Linked DNA regions of Homo sapiens: region 1 is linked to region 2. Evidence: promoter capture Hi-C in human tissues and cell types (Jung and others, 2019). All regions are on one chromosome and are shown on one strand. The core of a region is centred on a gene start or on the middle of the fragment in contact, and the rest is flanking DNA. Distances in the headings are between cores, read along the strand shown. Region 1 overlaps PRDM6 (PR/SET domain 6). Region 2 holds the start of PRDM6 (PR/SET domain 6).

Region 1 (6,883 bases), core at 3,895-6,394, 97 kb after region 2:
TTTTGAGGATTCAGGGAATGTGGAAACAGATGGAATTGAATTCTAAGGGCTTTGGCAAGATAATGGCATCTGAGCAAGAGAGTGTGTTTCTACACATGGCACACTTATCCAAATGGTGGACATCTGAATCCGTGCAAGATGGTCTATTCATTCACTTATTCACTCATTCATTCATTTACTCATTCAGTTATGTATGTGTTCATTCATTCAGCTGGTATTTACCAAGTATGTACTTTTTTGCTAGGCACCCTGGTAGGTACAAGAGATACAAAGGTGAATGACATTTAGCTGTTCCTCCTTTTCTCCATCTTTGAAAACCTCATAGTCTAAGGGGAAGCCCAATTAGTAAACGTATTATAGGGTGAAAAGTACAACAGTAAGACATGTATGTATGATGTTTCACAGTAGCACAGAAATGGAGTAATCAATGCTATCTGGTGGAAATGATGTTTCAGATATGTTTTGAAGGATAAGTAGGAGATTTCTAGACATACGGGGCATGGGGGAAGGTATTTCTGGCCGTCCAAACAGCAGGTGGAAAGGCCTGAGAGTGTGAGTCAGCATGCATGGTTGATTGGTGTTCTCAGAGCAGTTTTTATGGTCTGTGTGATGAACTCTTTTCAGTTCAACCCTCTTACAGCTCTCTTCACTCATTTGCTCTACTGGCTTTTTCTGTTTGAGAAGGAGAATTAAAAGAGCATAGAGTTACCGCCTTATGTACCTTCTGTAGGACATGATCAAGCAAGAGAGGAAATGATTCAGGCAGTAGGAGACTAATCCCCCTGCTCAGTCTCAGCCAAGAAGTCTTCCCAGAGCCTCATTACCCAGGATTTTCCATCCAGACCTGCTGTCGTGGCGCACTTTGTGCTCAGCCTGAGGCCAGGCTCAGCTTGGGAAACAGAGTTCTCTGGTCTGGGTCCTGCCTTCCTCTCTGTCTGCCAGTGAAGGGAGAAGTTCATAAAAGATAGTCATTGTCCCTCTTCTCCTCAATAATTAGTTACTTTATTCAGCATTCTTAACTATTCTCCAACATAGTTTAATTTATGGTGTTAATAATCAAAATAGTGATAATTTTTGTTGCGGTACATAGGTGCAGCTTGTTCACTGCATAAGAGCATCTGGCTAAGTGGGCAGGATGGGGCCTAAAATCAAGTCTGTACTATGCCACCCATGCTGTGCCGCCTGAGGCTGCAATAGCCCAAAGAGGGCATCTTTTTCTAATCCACCCTAAGGAGCTGCATGGGCTACCACAGTCCTAGGAGTTCCCTATCACCAGTGCTTGTATCCTGCCTAGTGGACTTTGTCATTGCCCTCAGGCCTGAGCCCCGTAGGGTTCCTAGGTTCTGGCTTCACTGCTCTGGAGGAGGGTGTTGACAATGAGTGGCACGTTGCCTGTGCCTTTGAGCAAGAGAGCTTTTCAAAAGCAGAGATACAGGAGGGTTCAGGATCCTTCTGGCCCCTTATATTAGAAAGGGCAGCCAGACCAATACAGTGCCAGGAGTCAGATTGATTTTTATCTTGTTGCTGTGTAAATAGATTTTAGTAATTAATTGAAGCGGTTTCAGGGTCAAAATGGGAAATAGATTTCTATTAATGTTAAGGTGTTACTTATGTGTAACCTTGTTGACTTCACTCAATTTTTTTCCTTTAACATCTGTTTTTGTCATGTTTCCAATAGAGTTGCCATTTTAACTTAATTTTAATTCATCAGATTAATATTTGAAGGGCTTTGCTGATTGTATTTTTCCTTTTCCAAAAATATATGTTTTGATCATACCTACTTTCATCTGGAAAAAAAAGGAAACAACTAAGGTTGTTGGCTTAAATTCTGTGTATATGTTTTAGTTCTTTCTGTTCCTACTTTTATCTAGACAGCCACATGCTGTAGTTGTTTTTTTTTATTTTAATTTATCAAATAGATATTCCCAGGGGAGAGCTGAGTGTATGCTTATTTTGAAAGTGCAAGATTTAAACATCTTCTAGGAAATGGAAAGTTAAATCCTTTAGTGTATACAACCAGGTCTTTCAGAATTGATCTATCCCAAGGGAATTTTGGGAATCTTCCAACCATAGCTCATGGATATTCATCCCATGGACATTTGTAAATATTATGAAGATATCCTTTTACAAGCTTATAAAACAAACATTTTTAAAAACCTTTTTTTTGCAGATTAGTCAATAAAATGGGTTTCTCTACAACAGTTAATTTTACTACTTCAACTAATGGGTATTGGCTTACACAATGTTACAAAGAAGGAGAAGAATCTTGTAAAGGCACATAACCCTCAACTGTATGTCTTGGGGAGTTTCCAAATAGATGCCCCAGATGGCTCAGTCCCCAAATTGTCCCACCCATCCAGGGCTCAGGAGGCCTTTACAGAATTCTCAGGGTTGAGCTGAGATTAAGCTTGCCATGTCAGAGAAAGCCCTTTACAACTTCTAAAATCTTCTGCTGAGAAGTGGTTTTTGAAGGCATATCAAGATTACTGCCATCCAAAGAAGGCTGCAGAAGATTTGGCATGAAGAGGTCAGAGTTTCAATCCAGGCTTTGCCTCATATCTGATTGACTGAAATTCCACTGAAAGAATCCATCTCCCATGTTCTAGGTAGATGATGGGCCTGTCAGCAGCTACCCTAGGCCGTAGACTTAGGATTTCTAAGATAAAGGAGCATGTACGAAAAATAAAAATTGGAGGATCACATTGAAGGTCTTGGCTTTCAATTTGCTCTATGATACTGGAAGTCATGGAAAACAAGGAGCAAACGCAAGATATCATTTAACAGCAATGGCCAAGCATTTTATTGCAGGCAGGCAGGAAGGAAGGAAATAAAGAAGTTAGTTGGCAGTCTAAAAATTATTCTATGCAGCAAGGACTCCTTCCTCCTTCTTACTAAACAGTGTCTTGATATTTCAGTGGGCTGCCCTGCTGTGCCTGAGAGGATCTGTGTGAGCTGCCCGAAGCCTGGCTTTCTGAACCTGGGAAACTGAGAACAGGCCAGAATTTTCCTTAGGAGGGGTTCTTCATTATTGTTAGAAGCAAGGAGAATCATTCATCGCTATGTTCTTTCATCAAGAAAATGGAGTTTGGCTCATGATGAAAAAAATCAAAGGAAATTCCAAAGGACATCTAATATTTGAACAAGATCTAGGCAAAATTAAAGCAAATCCAAGAAGCAAATCAGTAAATATGCATTGAACACATCATACATACAAAGCCCTGTGCAATTTGGTTCAATTCAAAAAGTATTTTGTGGCATATCATAGAGGCACAGAAAGCTTGTTGCAGGTTTTCTGTGGTAACAGAACTTGACATCGCTTTGTTAAGCTCCTCGTACATATAATCCAGTCAACCATCATAGTAAGTAAAGAATGATCTCAAACTTTAGAGGTAATTAAGTCTAATTAAGATGCTCACAATGGTATAATAGAAACTCCTCACAATGAGGAGTTTCTTTTAGCTGAAATACTTAGTAGACTTTCCACTTCATTGTTCCTGAGATACTCCCGTCAAGGCTGTGGCATCAGCACCTATGCTAAGGGAAGGCACAACGAAGCCCCTGAGTGCAAGGGCGCTTTTCCCTCCTGACGCATTACCTGCATCTTTTCTTCCTTCTTACTCTGTTACACTGCACGAAGTCCAGGCTTAGAGATGCCCCTGCCAGTCAGTCATCAGGGACTGTAATTCAGGGTTAGTTTAGATGCCAACCAAGTGAAGTCTGGCTCTGACTTCTGTTGAGTCAGTTCTGTTGAGATGAGTTTCATTAAAGTATGAAAATATTTTGTGGAAGAGATTTCTCTAAAATGTAAGATAATGAACATAAAACTGAAGTCCTTCTCTTATTTTTAAAAAATATTTTTATATCTAGCTCTTACTTCCTCAAATATATAAATTGCATTCTTGTCATTCCCAGACAACATAGATATTATTTCTGGTAGCCTTCTTTCCTCAAGGAGAACTCCCTGAGAAAAGATTCTAAATTAAGGTAATTTCTACACGTTTGCTTGTATTTTTACTCACACTTGGTGTGCAGATGGCTCTAGAAATGATTTTTCTGGAATACTCTTCTTATGCACCCTATATATTGGACAAATTTTCTGACTATTACAACAAATTGTTCCATTTGTGTAAATATCTGCAGTGCATTTAGGCAAACACTTGAGAAAAATGTGTTTTTCTCTTAGTGTCTCCATCCAATCTGGATGTTAAAATATTACATATAGACATACACTTTTGCCTTATATGAAGCACTAAACTGCCAACTCGTGTATTCCTCATATTCTAATACACAAGATTAAAAATGCAAAACCATGACCCAGGCACATTTTCATTTCTCACAATTGTTCAAGCTATTCTACTCTCTTTGAAATTGATTCTAGAGCTTCAAGATAAAAAAAAGGAATATAATAATTTGAAAGTTTGTCAAGCAGTGAAAGGTAGTATATTTTGACACACTAATCCAGTAACTAATCAGTTTTCTAATAAACAATCAGCAGTTCGCTAACGTGTCATCAGCACTCCAGGAGCTCTGGAGAGGGGATGAGCTGCCCACGGACGTTAATGAATACACCAAAAATCATTAGGTGATCAATACTTCTGAGTTATTTTCATTGAGCTGATAGGTCTGATACATTAAAGCTGACATTATACATTTGTCAAGATCACAGTGCAGTTTTTAACAGTGGAACAGGCTGCTAAAAATATTCCCCGAAAGACAATCAAAGAAACACAAGTTCTTCCCCCTGACACACTCCGCTGGTGCAGGAGCCCTGAAAAATCCAAATGCGAAGTGAAGCTCCTGCCTCCCAATGTTCAAAAACATGCAAGAATTCCCAGAGTGGATTGATGTGTTCTATTTTATAGGTACTTATTTCCAAGACAGGGCACTTAATATAATTTACTGAAGAGGAGAAAGAGTGGAATGCCTAACAGATAACAGGGCTTGTGGCTTTCTTGTCTGTGATAAGGCAGGGAGACTATGTCATGGTGGCTTTTGCCACAGCTTTCATAGTGCAGGGGCTCACAAACTGGAGGTTGCATTATTTAAAAGTGGGACAATTGTCTGTAGCTCTTCTTGAATATCTTTTTCTTCAAAGGTTTGAGGAAAGGGCATTAGGGGTGGCTGAGGTGGCCTCTGAGCTGTATTAGATGCTGGGCCAGTGCTCTAGGCAGCCCAGGTAAGTAAGGTGGTGATGGAGAAGTCGCTGTCTGTGCCCAGCCAGCTGCCACAGTTCATCTGTGGGTGTGTGTATTTACACACACAATCACAATCAGCCAGGGACAACATCCACAGAAAAACAACAGGCTCCCACTAGATTTTGAATGTGTGTTCTGCTTTTTGTAGATTGAGTAGCCACCAAGCTAGTAAGTGAAGGTTGTTTGGAAGATATGGACATGGGAGATAGGGAGGAACTCAAAGTCTCTAGATTACAGTCTTTTTTTGTTGTTGTTTCTCATTTAAGTTAAAAAGAAGAGATAAATCTTGAAGTGTGACATTTTCTCCTCATCAGACACACTGCCCTTAATTCTAGCCCATAGGTACATCCTTTCCACTGTGCCACTGCAAATTCTAGTTTTATAAATTATTTTAACCCTAAGTTTGGTTAGGCTGTGACACTGTAACCAGCTTTTGCAAAAAAGCAGCGACCACGCCTACTGCCCCTCACAGTCACTGCAGTCTAACATATTGCTTCCTCTAGTTTCCAAATTCCAAGATGTACACTCTTTGGCTGCTGTTCTGAAGGGAGTAGAATTCCCAATTGTAAATTAGCAGTAGGTGAAATTCTATTTGTCATCAATTTCTCTTTGGGGTTACAGAGTAGAAAACTGCAGGCAAGCTGCTTCTTTGATGGCTCACTCCTAAAAATCTCTTTTTGTTCTTTATCTATTTGAACTGACAGTGATCAGAGCTGCAGCAGGACAGGGCTCTCTGGAGAAATCACCTTCCCCCTGCCTATTGACAGATCCCTCTGTTCTGCATCAGACGGGCTTTGTCCCATCACAGGCATCCAGGCCTTGGAAGGAGCCACCAATTAAACCTCTTGAGCTGGTAAAATCTGAAGCCACTTTGGAGTGTCTGTTCTGATTAGGCAGGATGAGAGGAAGCCCATCACCCTGCAGGCCCCGCTCCCTGGTCTCAATTTTCTCTCTTGCCTCCACCAGGTGCGAGAGGTGTGAGAGGAGCTTCACGCAGGCCACCCAGCTGAGCCGACACCAGCGGATGCCCAATGAGTGCAAGCCAATAACTGAGAGCCCAGAATCAATCGAAGTGGATTAACGGATTGACTGGTTGGAATTAAACTGCAAGGAAAGTCATGATTAAATGTCACGGACACTTAAGCAAAACCAAAGATTTCCTCTGAGCAACTTTCAATCAGTCCCAGAAAACCAAAAGCAGTAATAAAATAAGTAAGATGTTAAGAGATATTGATCCTGGCATGGAAGTCAGACCAGGAAAGAGATTATTTATTTATGACTTAGGGATGAGACTTATTTCAGTGGACAACTAACCTGGGATGGTTAACATTTCCAGTCCCACCATGTATTTTGCTTTGTTTCTAAAAAGCTTTTTAAAAACTGTTATTTAATACCAAAGGGAGGAATCGTATGGGTTCTTCTGCCCACCGTTGTGACTAAGAATGCACAGGGACTTGGTTCTCGTTGCACCTTTTTTTAGTAACATGTTTCATGGGGACCCACTGTACAGCCCTTCATTCTGCTGTGTCAGTTTGGCCTGGCCTGACACTGGCTGCCCCAGCGGGGACCACGGAAGCAGAGTGAGAGCCTTCGCTGAGTCAATGCTACCTTCAGCCCCAGACGCATCCCATTTCCATGTCTTCCATGCTCACTGCTCATGCACTTTTTACACGGTTTCTTCCAAACAG
Region 2 (6,587 bases), core at 2,576-5,075:
CCCTTTTGCCTGCAATCCAAGATCCTCAGTGAGAAGGCTCCTCCCTGGTCCCAAACCATGGAGGAAAGGAGCTTTCTAAACAAGCGAATGAACAGGTATGGAAGGAAAAAGGGCCACCGCAGGCCAGAGTCTCTGTGCTGTTTAGATACCACATTTTCAACCAAGTTTTTGCTGGCAGGCTCAAGGGACCTGTCTGCTAATACGGCTCAGCAAAGATTCCTCCTAGCTACATCCAGCCTTTCCTTCTCCTCCCGCCCCCCTCCTTTCACCTGCAGCCCACCCCCCACCCCCATCCATTTCCTAGGAAAACAAATCTCTGGGAGGAGGCAGGAAGAGTGGATCTCAGCGAACCCTTCTGAATAAATGTCTATATTAATGAATTATTAACTCAGCCACCCGTGACCTTAAACCTACTAGAAGCAGGAGCACCCAGGGCAGAGCGGAGAGCTGCTGAATCCTTTATTGGAGTCCTGTCAAAGGCAACCGACCATTTGTTCCACTCCCCCATCAAGAAAAAATAATATGAAAGGCAAACTTTTGAATTGTATGTTAAACGGAATCAGATAGAGGGTCTCCTGGACAGAACCCCCTTCTCTCCTCCTACCCCTTCTGCTGCTCCCTCCCTACCCTGGCCTCCAGCTACATCCTTCCCCTCCCAGCTCAGGGTACAATGGGCTTCCCAAGGATAATTTTCGGGGCGAAAATGCTCGAGAAAATGATGAATTTGGGTAATTTATCGATCCTGGCTCCTCTTCCCACTTGTTTTATTTTAGAGGTCATTAATCAATGAAGAAAAACACCACCGTGTCCCCCCGTTTGCATTTAATACACTCAAGGCTCCTCATTTATTCCTCTGGAACAAATTCCCAGCAAATATTCACCCATCGATTTGGGAGCGATGGATTTTTATAAAGGTTTGATCGCTTTCTAAGTGGTCGAAGTGATTTGTTTCCGTGGTCTTCTCAGTATTGAAGGGGGTGGGGGAAGCGGATTTGAGGGGGTGCATGTCCTTGCCGTCGGTGGGCTCACTTTCTAAAAACTATTGAGATGCGCCAGGGTGGCCGTGACCAAGCGGGCCCAGGGTCAACTGTGTGAGGGGGAAGCGCCCCTCAGAGCGCGCGCAGCGTCGGGGGTCCAGCTTACGCCGCTGCGCGCCCTTGTGCGCACCGGGTGAGGATGCCGAGCTCTGCGGGCATCCCGGAAGCCGCGGTGGAGGCAGGGGCCCCGCTCGGCGCAGTGGGCCTGCTGGGGAGGTGCAGGGGAGGTCCTGACTCCTGGTCTATTCCCTTCCAGACTTTTTCGTTCGCTCCCGGACCTTCAGGGCTCTCCCTCAAACTTTCTCCTGCCCCCTTCACGGGAGGTTCCTGTAGCCTCTGGGCCTTAGGGTCCCGTAAGCCTCGGGATCGACTTGTGCCCGGGGTGGGTGTGGCGGAAGCTTGAATCGGATTACCCAGGTACGCCACCTGTAGACGTAGTGGGCGAGGGGGACTTTGCTACCTTCTCAGCTTCTTCCCTGGACCCCGCAGCGAGGGGAACCAAATCTCTCCCATGATAGCCCCTCTGGCGTCAGTCTGGACCGAGTGGCTACAGGTTGGACTAGGGTAGGCAGAAGATGCACTTGGCACCTTACCGAACGGTATTTGAATCCGTCTCCATTACTCATTAATGGCGTGACCTTAGGCAACCCATCTAAACTTTCCGAACCTCAGCGGTCCCCATCTACAATATGGGGGTTAATGATAATGCCTTCTCCGCATGTAGGTGGATTAAATGGACATAAAGCGCCTACCCCCGCCCGGCACGTCCAAAACTCTCATTAACAGGTCAGCTAATCTTATTACGAGAGGAACCCTCCCTCCTCCGCTTCCCAGAGTGTGGGCGGCATGAGGCCACGGAAGCAGCTGCTGCAACTAGCATTTCAAAATCCAGAGACTTTCTAATGGTGGCAGGGGGTGAAAGGGTAGGGGGGAGGCAGGGTTGGGACAGGTAGAGGTAGGTTCTTGGGGACTTCCAGTCTTGGGGACCAAGCGCTTGGAACTAGCTGGGTTTGGGCAGAAACAAGAAGGCAAATGACGGGACCGCCGCCGGAGTCCGGACTTCCATCCCTGGAGTTCACTGTCTCTCCCAGGGAACAGAGGAGTGTCCTGGTTTCTCAGCAATGAACCAGGAGAGTGTGAGAAAGAGCATTTGTTTCTTCTCCCGTGGCCCGACAAGCCACTCTTCGGCAGTTCTGCGAGCAGATTAATTGAAACGGGCCTGGAACTTCATCCTCTCCTCCCGATGGAGTTGCTGGAGGTCTGCGGACACTGCCTGGTTAGCCTCCGGGACCACAGCGCCGTGGGCTTTCCCTCGTGGTGTCTGCCTTAAACTTGGGTGCTATCAATCTATCCAACAATGACGGATGACCTTGTCATAACGACGCCAGTCAAAACATTTTCGGTCTAACTCTCTTCCAACCAACATCGAAGCATCCTGAATGAGACCCGGATGAAGTCTGAACAGCACGTTTCCCAGGTTCAGAAAACTTGAGTGGTGGGAAGAGAAAAAGAAACAAGCAGAAATCAGGAAAGAATGGCTATTAATTGCTCAGATTGGCAAGTGCTAAATAAGTTAGGTTGTTTGGAAAAAGATAAATGCCGTTTCTTCTCTTTACGGTATGGCCAGAACCCCGGCGATGGGAAAGTACCTCCTGAGTCGGTCAATTTCACACACCCTGCCTGTGCCCTCTACCATCTACTACCGAAAATGCCAGGAAGAGCTGGGGGGCAAGTGCCTCCTTCGTGGGTGCGAGACTGCATCGAAGGGCTGCCCTGGCACAAAGTCTGGGGAGAGGACATGGTGGAGGTGGGGCTGCACTCCCACCCTGCCCCTCTAACACCAGGTTTTGGGTAGAGAAACCTATGCGTGACCTCCTGCGGCAGCCGCAGGCAGCTGACCGCAAACAGCCTCGCCCGTGTCCCGGAGCAGTTGTGCCACCAGACGTAACACTGGATACTTGTCTCCGGGCCCCAAGAAGGAGAGGGAAAGAGCCCTCCAGAAGACAACCCGAGAAGGGGTCAGCAGAGCGCTGGGTGGAGTGCAGACTCCATTGCAGCCGCCTCCCAGCCCCACGGCCAAGCTTGAGTCCCTCCAGGACCAGCTGCTCTCGGTCTCAGGACCCTCGGTCCTACGCCTCCCTGCACCGACAAGCCTCCCTCCTGGGCTGCAGACAGAGGGTTTCACTGCAGCGCGCAACCCGTCCCGCTCCGCCCCCAACTTTTCTCCCCGGAGGATTTATGTTAGAGGTTGCGTGGCGGGCGAGTGGACTCTGGCACCCAGAAGCACTTCAGGAAAAACTGAGCCGGGCAAAAGCGCAAACCCGGTCCTGGCGGCGCGGGCTTGCTCCAGCGCGGACACCACAGCGTGTGCGGAGATGCATTCCCGTTGCCGCATTTCCACTGCTTTCAAGATCAGGGCACTGAGCTGGGACCCAGAAAAGACATATCATGGGCAGAAAGAGACAACAGGCTAGCGGCAGACGTCACGCCAAAAAAACAGGGGATGGGAGGGCGGAGGAGTTTGTGCGGGAAAGGCGCTCTGGCGATGTGGGTCGGGCCGAATTAGAACTTCCTTCTTCCCTCTCCCCTCCCCTTCTTCTGGCCTGCCTCCCCTCCCCCCTCCGTTCTCTCTCTCTCTCTCTCTCTCTCTCTCTCTCTCTCTCTCTCTCTCTCTCACACACACACACACACACACACACACACACACACACACACACACACACACACACACACACACACTCACTCTATTTTGTGCTGTCGTAAAACCCACGTGTCCAGCCGGGAAGCTGCCAGAGCGTGGAACCAAGGAGCCAGGACGCGGCAGCGGCCAAGCGCAGCAGCCCACGGCGGTTGAGTCGGGCGCCCAGGTCCGTCCGCACTCTCGCGCCCTCCGCGGGCCTCCCAATTTTCTCGCTTGCAGGTCGGGAGGTTTCCGGGCGGCACAATCTCTAGGACTCTCCTCCCGCGCTGCTCAGGGGCATGTAGCGCACGCAGGGCGCACACTCTCGCGCACCCGCACGCTCACCGAGACACCCGCACGCACCCACCGGCAGCACCGAGTTTTCAGGTAAGGTGAGGCTGGTCTGGGACTTAAGAGTCTAGGGCTTGGTAGATAGGAAGGTTGGTGGTCCTAGGTTGGGGGCGGGCGGCGAGACTGTTCTGCCTCCTGGCGCCTGAGGCCAACGCGGCTCGGGCGCTGCGCCACGCCGGCTCGGGTCGGCTCCGGGCGCTGGCTGAGGGCGGGGGCTGCGTCCTGCAGCCGAGTTCTACGGGGCAGCGCCCTCCTGTCGGGCCCCAGCATTGCTGGATGGGAGCTGGACGCTGCGATCGGGGAGGCAGAGCAGGGTGCACACAGCTCCCTCTGTGCGGCGCCGCAGCTTCGGAGTAAACTTTGCGCCCAAGCGGAGTTGGGAAGAGGGAGCCGCGGAACCGGGCGGCCGCCGGCTGAACCACCGGCTCGGGCACTTTCTCCAGGGTCCCAGTGGCCCTCTTCCCGGCCCCTTTCGCCCAGCTCACGCGCCCCCTCTTCCCTGCCCTCTGCCCCCAGTTCGAGGCGCCGGACATGCTGAAGCCCGGAGACCCCGGCGGTTCGGCCTTCCTCAAAGTGGACCCAGCCTACCTGCAGCACTGGCAGCAACTCTTCCCTCACGGAGGCGCAGGCCCGCTCAAGGGCAGCGGCGCCGCGGGTCTCCTGAGCGCGCCGCAGCCTCTTCAGCCGCCGCCGCCGCCCCCGCCCCCGGAGCGCGCTGAGCCTCCGCCGGACAGCCTGCGCCCGCGGCCCGCCTCTCTCTCCTCCGCCTCGTCCACGCCGGCTTCCTCTTCCACCTCCGCCTCCTCCGCCTCCTCCTGCGCTGCTGCGGCCGCTGCCGCCGCGCTGGCTGGTCTCTCGGCCCTGCCGGTGTCGCAGCTGCCGGTGTTCGCGCCTCTAGCCGCCGCTGCCGTCGCCGCCGAGCCGCTGCCCCCCAAGGAACTGTGCCTCGGCGCCACCTCCGGCCCCGGGCCCGTCAAGTGCGGTGGTGGTGGCGGCGGCGGCGGGGAGGGTCGCGGCGCCCCGCGCTTCCGCTGCAGCGCAGAGGAGCTGGACTATTACCTGTATGGCCAGCAGCGCATGGAGATCATCCCGCTCAACCAGCACACCAGCGACCCCAACAACCGTACGTAGCCGCAGCCCGCGCGCTCTCTCCCGGGGCGCCGGCGCCGGCGCCGGCGGGCGCGGGTGCCTGTCAGGGAGGCGGGTCGGATAGGAGTGACACGGGGCCGGGTGGGTGGGGAGCACCTGGTCCTGGCCGCTGGCCCGCGCCTCCCCGATCTCTGTGACAAAAGTTTTCTGGCGTTGGAGAAGGAAAGAGAACGGATGGGACGGCCGGTGGCACTTTGGGGTTCCCTCTCCCTCCCTCTCCTCACCTGCTTCACAGTCCCAAGTGTTTGGGGCCGGAGTCTACCGTGGACCCGGCCTAACAGACCTCTGCCCTCCCGCCGGACAGTGCCCGGGGCCAGGCGGGTACTGGCAGCGTGTGACAGGGGGTGTCTGGGTCAGGCCCTGCCTGGCCTTAGCCGGGACGAGGGAGGGACCCTCAGCGTCTCTGGGGAGCACGCAGACCAGGGCTTGTTTTTGCTACTCTCCACCCCACCTCTGGAGGGGTCATTTTCGGGCCGCGGGGTTGTGGGGGAACCGGCGGGAGCTGTTCGCTGGCCAGGCCTCACTGGAGTAGGAATTTTAGATGAAACTGAGTCCGTTTCTCCTTGAAGGCAGGCAGTATTCTTAGATCTACTATTCATTTAAAAAGAAGGAAAAGAAAAAAAAATGACTGCTACTTACTGAGAAGAAAATTTCTGTTCTCCTCCGATTCCGCTGATCCCGCTTTATCCGCGCACCTTTGACCCCGCAAACATTCATAACCCATGTTGGTTTATGTATTTATTTTTAGAAATTAGGGTGACTGTAATTTAGTAAAAGACGCTTACTCCCCTCTTCCTCCAAGTTAATAGCAAATGCCTAACTAAACATCAGAATTCCTGTAGCTTCGGTTTCTATATTCACAATTTGAAACGCTTATCACAAGTACAGTTCCATTTGGCGGTTTTGAAGCAAAACTCTAAATGAAGATCAAGCAATATGTACTGCTTTATACCTGCTTCTTTTTGATAATTTCAGAAGTTATACTGTGTTTACACCTATACTGTGTTGGGAGTGTTAAACGTGCTCCCAGAGACTTCTGGAGATAACATTAAAGTGTGTTAAGAGCGTCAGATTGAAAGCAATACAGGATTTGAAAGATCAGCATTCATTCAGCTATTTTCTTCATCTCATTCCTTCGTCTGGCTTCTGTATGAGTAAAGTTAATTTAAAACATTTATTTTTATTCAATTTTGAATAAGTTGCTTCTTGCAAAATGTCTACCGCTCTGTGAACTTCTTAATTCGTTGTAAAAGCAAAATAAGTTCAGTTATAGCTCTTTAAAGGATTCCCTAAGTCGTTGATTTGATGAAAAAAAAAACACTGGGCAACTGCCTCGTGGTTGAGGTCTATGAATATTTTCATTATGTTGG

Evidence for each region. Contacts are between HindIII fragments. The study calls those that stand out against the background at their distance.
Region 1: a fragment that was not itself captured here is called in contact with the fragment with the promoter of PRDM6 in region 2 in 2 of the 25 tissues and cell types used here (aorta and bladder).

What each region holds. Positions count from the first base shown.
Region 1 is chr5:123,180,926-123,187,808 of GRCh38, forward strand. PRDM6 (PR/SET domain 6) reads left to right here. Exons shown (of 8, transcript NM_001136239.4): 8 at 6,162-6,883. The coding sequence ends at 6,276. Among named protein-coding and RNA genes, the nearest start is that of PRDM6-AS1, 94 kb to the left of the region's middle. The HindIII fragment of the contact is 5,750 bases long and covers 2,270-6,883 here.
Region 2 is chr5:123,085,416-123,092,002 of GRCh38, forward strand. PRDM6 (PR/SET domain 6) reads left to right here and starts at 3,826. Exons shown (of 8, transcript NM_001136239.4): 1 at 3,826-4,104; 2 at 4,585-5,191. The coding sequence starts at 4,600. It overlaps PRDM6-AS1 (PRDM6 antisense RNA 1), which reads right to left and starts at 4,901. Exons shown (of 2, transcript NR_146771.1): 1 at 4,657-4,901; 2 at 816-2,524. RefSeq lists enhancers at 2,476-3,020, 3,021-3,565. The HindIII fragment of the contact is 7,641 bases long and covers 2,277-6,587 here.